Regions from separate parts of the Homo sapiens genome. Here region 1 is linked to region 2. Evidence: promoter capture Hi-C in 16 types of primary human blood cells and fetal thymus (Javierre and others, 2016). All regions are on one chromosome and are shown on one strand. The core of a region is centred on a gene start or on the middle of the fragment in contact, and the rest is flanking DNA. Distances in the headings are between cores, read along the strand shown. Region 1 overlaps LIN54 (lin-54 DREAM MuvB core complex component). Region 2 holds the start of HPSE (heparanase).

Region 1 (4,936 bases), core at 1,419-3,918, 360 kb after region 2:
ATGTAATTCCTAACACATGAAATTATAGCAGTGGCTATAAATAATGAACATTTTATGAAACTGTGTCTTTACTGGTAATTTCTTTTCTTAACAGAATGGTTATTGGGGCTTCATACTTATCTCACAGGTATTAGCTTTGGAAACCAGAATAGACAAACATGTTACTTTAGGCAGGCTGAATACTTTAGGGCGGCTCTCTAAACCTATTTGATGTAGATTCGTTTGGTTTATTTAGAATTGACTTTATGTAATTATGATGTATTCAGGTTTTTAAAAAACCTGGCAGAATGTCATTAAAATTAATCTATGTACTACAAAGAAATTTTGAAAATTGTATTGAAAATACTTTAAAAATTCATAGATGGGGATAAAACTTGATTCACTTTTTAAAAAAGAAACTGTGCCAGCCTGGGCAACATGACAAAACTCCATTGTCTAAAAAAAATAAAAAAAAAATAGCTAAGCATGGTGGCACGTGCCTGTGGTCCCAGCTACTCAGGAGGCTGAGATGGGAGGATCATTTGAGCCCAGAAGTTCAAGGCTGCAGTGAGCTATGATCACGCCACTGCATTCTAGCCTGGGTGACTGAGGGAGACCCCTGTCTCAAAACAAAACAAAACAAAAGGCATACTTTGGCATTGTTGTCAGGAAAAATGGCCCAGAAGCTGCTAAGCATTAGTTCTTTATTTTTGTCTAAAGTGAAAGTCCCTTCTTTCTCTCTTTCCCTTTCTCCTCACTGTCATGCTCTCTCCTTCATCTCTAGCTGGATCTATGAGTTTAATCATAGTATCTAAAGGTTAGAGCAGATTCTAGAGATAATTTAGTTATCAATCTTCTCTACTTCTTAGATGCTTGACTTTCCTCTTTAGCCGGTATATTTGATTATCCAGCATCTGCCTGGGACACCTTTAGTGACTAGAAACTCACTTGTGTTGAAATAGTCATTTCAGTTGGAAATTTTTGTTAGAAGTTCTTTCTTAGTGCTGAGCTGAAATATTTTCTGTTTCTCTGCATTTGATGTGATACAGATTGGTTCTAATCCTTTAACCTGACAGCCTGGATCAGTTAGGATAATCTTGGTTTTTCTGCCAAAATAATCTCCAAACCTCAGAAGGGTAAAAAACCTGTTTTTTTTTTTTAAATTCAATTTAAAAAAAATTTAAAAATTGATTATCTATATGACCATTGTGGGTTCAAAAAGGTATCTTCTCTTCATAGCAACTCAGGGACACAGGCTAACCAAGGAGCCGCCATCTCAGATGGCAGAGGAAAATAAACTTTGGAAGGTCTTGCATAGGCAGTAATAAATGCTGTGGCCCAAGAATGACACACGTCACTTCTACTCATAACTCGTCTGCCAGGAGTAGTGACATGACTCTAACTTAACTACAAGATGGGGTGGGAGTGGTAGGAAGTGCAAGTGTAGTTCTACCATGTGTCCAGAATGGAAGAAAGCTAGAATACTTGGTGAATGGGAATAATGGCTATCACACAGTCTTCAAGAATTTGAAGATCTGTTATGTCTTTGTAGTCTTTTCTTACCTAGGATAAAAATTCCTGATATTTCAACTCAATGTAATATGGTTTTCAGTTCCCCAAGCATCCAGACACTAGAGTTTTTCATGGTTGTTCCTGAAGGGTCTTGTCCAGAAGGGAACACAATATGGAATCTGGCCGGGGTGGGTAGAAAAAACATTTTTTTATCCCCTTTGGCAGTCTAAAATCAGGTAGTATTAAACCTTTCAGTGTTTAAGTTAGTCCAATAACTATCTGTTTTATAAGTGTGGATTTCAATTGTACCTTCATGGTTTAAGTTCATATGGGAAGACAGCTATAGATAGTAGAATACAGAGATTGAAGTTTTAAGACTTGGGTTCATGTTCTGACTTTCAGGAGCTGTGTTACACAGGGCACATTACTTAGTTGCCCTGAGCTTTCTCTCTGATGGATATAACAACAGTATTGATGAACACATGAACTAAACTGTTTTTGTAGAGTTTAATGTAAGCTGATATTAAGTATTACTAAGAAGTAGTGTTTTGTTTAGTTCTGCCTAGGTTTACCATAGTTCATTAGTGCCTCATTAAGTGTTGACATGAAATAACAAACATACATTCTGCAGTCCTTGTGAGTGTAGAGCATCATCACATAAATTTTTATACTATTATTGAAAAAAGTCAAACTGATGTGCTGCCTCTCATTTGCAGGTAGGGTTCTTTCACAGTCTACTCCCGGAACTCCATCAAAGACCATAACAATATCTGAAAGTGGTGTTATTGGATCAACTTTAAATTCTACAACACAGACACCAAATAAAATAGCCATCTCACCTTTGAAATCGCCAAATAAGGTAAAAAAATAAATTAGCCACAAATACCAAATATTGTGGTTGATGCCTTTATTTTCTTACTAGTCACTTCAGATACTTCAATTTTAGTACATTCCCAAGCAAGTAATAGACATTCAATGAATACTGGATTAATTTAGTAATCAAGGATGTCTGACAGATTAAAAAGCTTACTTTAAACACATAGTAACATAGTAATCATTTTGCATGTGAATATGATTTCCATAGCCCATATGAATGTGGGTACAACAAAATCTTGAATAAATTCAATAATGTAGGTGTTTAGTTCTTCTTTAGTTAATATTTTAGCAAAATTATTGTATTTGTGGAAGGTACATATAGACTTATGATATAAAATATTAAATGTAACTTTAAAAAATGGAGATCTGAACTTTTGCTTGGTAACAGGACCCAGAGTAGTAGAAATTGCCATCAGATGCTGGTAGCCATATTATCAGTGTTGTTTAAGCTTGAATACATTTTATTGGAAGCATTCAAATGCTTTCTTATTTTATTGTGAGGCAAAGTAAGTCATCTAACTCACTTTCCTAAAACATACAGTTGTTATTATACCAGCATAACATTTTGAAAAAGATATGTTTTAAAGGACATATTATTCAGATAGAAAGCCAAGCATTATTATTTTGTTAGGTTTCACGCTTGTGACTCTGGAAACAATACTGCCCTTTGCACCTGCTTTCTTTGATTTGTTACTGTTCATAAATAGAACAAACGTTAAACATTTGCCTTACATTTTTTAAAGTCCAGGTGTTGGTTTCTTTAATGAGCCTTGACTATAATGTACAAATATGTTATCTCATACAGTTTATTAAGGTCAAATTCTACCTGCATAACTTTTTCCCTAAATTGAATGAATTTGGCAGAAATTTGAGGGTAACTGTGCCATGCATAGTGATAGGCACTGAGGATAAAACATGAATAAGATAAGGTATTTCATTTCAAGGAATTCAATAAGGTAGTTAGACTGAAACATTAAAAATTGTCCTACAGAATTACAATGGTCATAGATGGATTAATGACTGCTGTGTGTTTGGCAGGGAAGGTTTATACAAAGGAGCTTATTCTTGAAAGGTCTTAACCTTAAACGTGGGTTGGACTTAGCTCCAGATGAGCAGAAGGGGATTTCTGGATTGAGGTGATACTTTACATAAAGGTGTAAAAGTGTGGTCTTTCAGGAAGCCTCACTGATTTTTGCAGTGTGAGAGCCGAGGGTGCTAAGGTTAGATGGACGGTTTCTTTATCTTCAGGGGAGTTTGGACTTCTGTGGCTTCTCATTGCTTCTAGGACAGTGATTCTCGCCCTTATCTGCTTATTGGGATCACCTGGAGAGTTTTAATAAATACCGACGCCTAGTTCTCATCCCCAGAGATTCTGTTTTCATCTCTCCAGACTTGACCTGGTATCAGGATTTTACAAAGCTCTTTAAGTGATTCTAGTGGGTAGCCTAGATTGGGAACCACTGCTATAAATAATATGAAATTTGCATTTTTAAAAATACGAATCTTGTGGCATTATGAGAGATAGTTTGGGGGAAGGTGAGCCTGTATTGTGGGAGAGACCAGTTAGGTTAGTGATTCTCAACCTTGGCTGCAGTTAGTACTGGGGACCTCTTGAGAAAACTAATGGCAGGCCCCTACCTGACCCCATTTAAATCAGAATCTCTAGGCTGCGGCCTGTGTGTTAAATTTAATCTTTTAAAAGTGTAGGCCAGGGTAGAGAATCACTAAGAGATTATTGCAGTACTTCATGTTTGAACTACACTAGTAGCTCAGGGGCTAAAGAGGAAGAGAGATGTGTTGAAAGAGGTTCAGTATCTTAGGGGGAGAATCTAGGATGACTCCTGTATTTCTGACTTAGATAACGGGGTAGATGGTAGCCCTATGGACTAATTTGACTGGTATATGGTTTATACCTGATGACATACGAATAGGAACTGGCTTTATTTTTTTCCCATCCTTGACTTTAGCCCTGCCATATTGGATCTTCCTTTCTTGACTCTTGGCAAGATTTTACACTTAACTATAAGAACAAGCTTGTTTTAGTCTGAGACCAGCCTGACCAACATGGAGAAACCCTGTCTCTACAAAAAAAATACAAAATTAGCTGGGCTTGGTGGCACATGCCTGTAATCCCAGCTACTCGGGAGGCTGAGGCAGGAGAATTGCTTGAACCCAGGAGGTAGAGGTCGCGGTGAGCTGAGATCCTGCCATTGCATTCCAGCCTGGGCAACAAAAGCGAAACTCTTGTCTCCAGAAAAAAAAAAAACAAAAAACAAAAACAAGCTTGTTTTGGTTATTAAAATTCACAGGTGTGAAATGTACAGTCAAAAGCTTACATCCGGTTGAAAGCTTATCTATCGTTCAGGTGAGATCTAACCATGGCTCAGGGATTCGCGGTGGAGAAGAGGAGCATGATCTGTTTCGTCACTCTTCAACCTCCTCTCCCTTTCTGATTTTGTCTTCTGATCAGAAGGAAGATTAAAGGAGAAAGGACAAGGTTTTGTTTGACTGAGACTATTGTAATCCAGCTTCTGGTGCCCTCTGTGTGACAGGTGTCCAAATGTGGACT
Region 2 (4,733 bases), core at 1,523-4,022:
GCCCCCTCGTTTTTGTTTTCCCAGTTTCTTTTCTTTTTCTTTTTTTTCTTTTTTTTTTGACAGGGTCTTGCTCTGTCTCCCATTGTGCAGCGGCATGATCTTGGCTCACTGCAATCTCTGCCTCCCATGCAATTCTTATGCATCAGCCTCCTGAGTAGCTTGGATTATAGGTCTGCGCCACCACTCCTGGCTACACCATGTTGCCCAGGCTGGTCTTGAACTCTTGGGCTCTAGTGATCCACCCGCCTTGGCCTCCCAAAGTGCTGGGATTACAGGTGTGAGCCATCACACCCGGCCCCCCGTTTCCATATTAGTAACTCACATGTAGACCACAAGGATGCACTATTTAGAAAACTTGCAATGGTCCACTTTTCAAATCACCCAAACATGTTAAAGAAATTGGTATGACTGGGCATGGCACAGTGGCTCATGCCTGCAATCCTAGCATTTTGTGAGGCTGAGACGGGCAGATCACGAGGTCAGGAGATTGAGACCATCCTGACAGACATGGTGAAATCCCATCTCTACTAAAAATACAAAACAATTAGCCGGGGGTGATGGCAGGCCCCTGTAGTCCCAGCTACTCGGGAGGCTGAGGCAGGAGAATGGCGTGAATCCAGGAGGCAGAGCTTGCAGTGAGCCGAGATGGTGCCACTGCACTCCAGCCTGGGCGACAGAGCGAGACTCCGTCTCAAAAAAAAAAAAAAAGAAAGAAATTGGTATGACTGTTGACTCACAACAGGAGTCAGGGGCATGGGGTGGGGTGTAAGATTAATGTCATGACAAATGTGGAAAAGAAACTTCTGTTTTTCCAACTCCACGTCTGCTACCATATTATTACACTCTTCTGGTAGTGTGGTGTTTATGTGTGAATTTTTTTTCATATGTATACAGTAATTGTAGGATATGAACCTGATTCTAGTTGCAAAACTCACTATGAGCTTAGCTTTTAAGTTGCTTAAGAATAGGTAGATCTATGCAAATAATGATAATTATTATTATTATTTTAAGAGAGGGTCTCACTTTGTCACCCAGGCTGGAGTGCAGTGGTGTGATTAAGGGTCACTGCAACCTCCACCTCCCAGGCTCAAATAAACCTCCCACCTCAGCCTCCCCAGTAGCTGGAACCACAGGCACGGGCCACCACGCCTGGCTAATTTTTTGTATTTTTTGTAGAGATGGGGTTTCATCATGTTGCCCAGGCTGTTCTTGAATTCCTCGGCTCAAGCAATCCTCCCACCTTGGCCTCCCAAAATGCTGGCATCACAGGCATGATGGCATCACTGGCATCACATACCATGCCTGGCCTGATTTATGCAAATTAGATATGCATTTCAAAATAATCTATTTTTATTTGTTGCCTTATTGGTGGTACAATCTCAAGTGGAAAAATCTAAGGGTTTTGGTGTTATTTGCTTACTCAACCAATATTTATTAGACTCTTACTAAGCACCAACATGATCACATGCCTGAGCTATGGCTAGCATAGCGTGTGAGACAAACTTAATCTCTGTTTTGGTGGAGCATATAATCTAGTAGATGAAGCCAATGTTGAGCAACATCACAATACTAACAAATTGAGGATGCTACGAGAGTGTCTAACAAATTGAGGATGCTACGAGAGTGTCTAACAAATTGAGGATGCTATGAGAGTGTGTCATGGAGAGCTGCCTGGAGATTGAGAGAAAGCTTCCTTGAGGGAAGTTACATTTCAGCTGAAACACACTGCCATCTGCTCGAGGTTTTGTAACTGCATTCACATCCCGATTCTGACACTTCACATCCCGATTCTGACACTTCACCCAGTTACTGTCTCAGAGCTTGGGTCCGCATGTGTAAAACAAGGACAGTATGCACTTGGCAGGGTTGTGAGAAGGGAAGAGAACACAAGTAAAGCACCTGTATCAGGCATACAGTAGGCACTAAGCGTGCGATGCTTGCTATGATTATACATCAGTGTAAGCATCAAGGAAAAGCTGAAGAAAAGTCTGACCAACAGCGAAAGATAAATGCGCAGAGGAGAAATTTGGCAAAGGCTCCAAATTCAGGGGCAGTCCGTACTCTACACTTTGTATGGGGGCTTCAGGTCCTGAGTTCCAGACATTGGAGCAACTAACCCTTTAAGATTGCTAAATATTGTCTTAATGAGAAGTTGATAAAGAATTTTGGGTGGTTGATCTCTTTCCAGCTGCAGTTTAGCGTATGCTGAGGCCAGATTTTTTCAAGCAAAAGTAAAATACCTGAGAAACTGCCTGGCCAGAGGACAATCAGATTTTGGCTGGCTCAAGTGACAAGCAAGTGTTTATAAGCTAGATGGGAGAGGAAGGGATGAATACTCCATTGGAGGTTTTACTCGAGGGTCAGAGGGATACCCGGCGCCATCAGAATGGGATCTGGGAGTCGGAAACGCTGGGTTCCCACGAGAGCGCGCAGAACACGTGCGTCAGGAAGCCTGGTCCGGGATGCCCAGCGCTGCTCCCCGGGCGCTCCTCCCCGGGCGCTCCTCCCCAGGCCTCCCGGGCGCTTGGATCCCGGCCATCTCCGCACCCTTCAAGTGGGTGTGGGTGATTTCGTAAGTGAACGTGACCGCCACCGAGGGGAAAGCGAGCAAGGAAGTAGGAGAGAGCCGGGCAGGCGGGGCGGGGTTGGATTGGGAGCAGTGGGAGGGATGCAGAAGAGGAGTGGGAGGGATGGAGGGCGCAGTGGGAGGGGTGAGGAGGCGTAACGGGGCGGAGGAAAGGAGAAAAGGGCGCTGGGGCTCGGCGGGAGGAAGTGCTAGAGCTCTCGACTCTCCGCTGCGCGGCAGCTGGCGGGGGGAGCAGCCAGGTGAGCCCAAGATGCTGCTGCGCTCGAAGCCTGCGCTGCCGCCGCCGCTGATGCTGCTGCTCCTGGGGCCGCTGGGTCCCCTCTCCCCTGGCGCCCTGCCCCGACCTGCGCAAGCACAGGACGTCGTGGACCTGGACTTCTTCACCCAGGAGCCGCTGCACCTGGTGAGCCCCTCGTTCCTGTCCGTCACCATTGACGCCAACCTGGCCACGGACCCGCGGTTCCTCATCCTCCTGGGGTAAGCGCCAGCCTCCTGGTCCTGTCCCCTTTCCTGTCCTCCTGACACCTATGTCTGCCCCGCCAGCCGCTCTCCTTCTTTTGCGCGGAAACAACTTCACACCGGAACCTCCCCGCCTGTCTCTCCCCACCCCACTTCCCGCCTCTCATTCTCCCTCTCCCTCCCTTACTCTCAGACCCCAAACTGCTTTTTGGGGGGTATCATTTAAAAAATAGATTTAGGGGTTACAAGTGCAGTTCTGTTCCATGGGTATATTGCATTGTGGTGGCATCTGGGCTCTTAGTGTAACTGTCACCCGAATGTTGTACATTGTATCTAATAGGTAATTTCTCATCCCTCATCCCTCTCCCACCCTCCCACCTTTTGGAGTCTCCAGTGTCTACTATTCCACTAAGTCCATGTGTACACATTGTTTAGCGCCCACTCTAAATGAGCCTTTTTGTTTCATTCATTCTGTAAGTGTTGAATAGGCACCACCTAAGGTCAGGTATAAGTGGAAATTTGAAAAAGAAACTGCCCACTTGCCCCAGTACTTCCCTAGCCAAGAGGAGGGAAACCAGGCAGGTGCACCTGAAGGCCTGTGAGTGCTTGATTTGCTGTGCAGTGTAGGACAAGTAAGATTGTGCATAGCCTTCTGTATTTAAGACTGTGTTAGGAAGATTTCTCTTTCTTTTCTTTTCTTTTTCTTTTTTCTTTTCTTTTTTTTTTTTTAGGCAGATGAAAAGGGCGTCACAGAACAGGAATAAAAATCTAAATATTCAATAAATGAGACCTAGGAGACTACTGCAGTGACTTACAAAGTCCTAATAAAAAGATGTCTCTCCAAAATGGGGCTGCAAAATGTGGTGCTGCCTTATCAGCTCTAAGTTTTTTCCTTACCTGAGAAAGAAGGAACCTGATGCAGGTTCAGGGCTCCTGCCCCATGAATGCAGGCTGACTCCAAGATGGGGAGCTACAGGGACAATCCCAGGTCTTCTAGGCCTCTTATTTAGGCCCTGGGAGCCTCCAGAGATGGCCACATCTTGACCAGCCCAGATAGAGGGAAAGATCACCATTATCTCACCTCTGTGTCAAATACCTAGATGCTGTCCTCCCTGAGCCCACACTATAGTTGCCAGCGCTAATTTAATGGGTAGTGTACTGGTTAAGAGATGGACAGACCATCCTGGCTTGACTCTCAGCTCTGGCAAAGATGAGTGACTTGGTTTTTCCATATCTCTTGGCCACACCAACCTTGATTTCTTCAGCTGTAGAATGGAATTTCTCAAGCTTGCCTCAAGGATTATTGCCCGAGGATTTGATGATATGGTAAGAGCTTCTCAGTGTTTGACCCATAGTAAGTGTTTGACGTTTCAAACGAATTGTTTCTTTCTAGGACATGGTGAGCATTTGGTAGCCATTCACCGGTTTTCTGTTTCTTTGGATCATAGTTAACCTCTCCTTTTCCTTCTGGCACTACAATTTTCTGGTGGGGAAGAATCCTTACTTTCTGCCCTTCCCCTTAAGGATAGGAAGCTGATACTAGGCAGCAACTAGTTGGGGGATAGGAAGATTGTTCCAGAGAAATGCTGAACCATAGGGCTCCAGATCACAGGACCCCAGTCTTAGCTTGCTGGGGTGTGGGGTGGGGGGGGGCGGTTACTGAACATGGGTATGAAGTAGATGTCCA

The links. Contacts are between HindIII fragments. The CHiCAGO score rates a contact against its expected background, and 5 or more counts as called.
Region 1: a fragment that was not itself captured here is called in contact with the fragment with the promoter of HPSE in region 2 in 1 of 17 cell types (total CD8 T cells); the score reaches 6.2 in total CD8 T cells.

Annotation. Positions count from the first base shown.
Region 1 is chr4:82,967,741-82,972,676 of GRCh38, reverse strand. LIN54 (lin-54 DREAM MuvB core complex component) reads left to right here. Exons shown (of 13, transcript NM_194282.4): 4 at 2,208-2,350. Among named protein-coding and RNA genes, the nearest start is that of LIN54, 41 kb to the left of the region's middle. The HindIII fragment of the contact is 300 bases long and covers 2,519-2,818 here.
Region 2 is chr4:83,332,887-83,337,619 of GRCh38, reverse strand. It overlaps HPSE (heparanase), which reads left to right and starts at 2,772. Exons shown (of 12, transcript NM_001098540.3): 1 at 2,772-3,064. The coding sequence starts at 2,838. The HindIII fragment of the contact is 2,644 bases long and covers 1,692-4,335 here.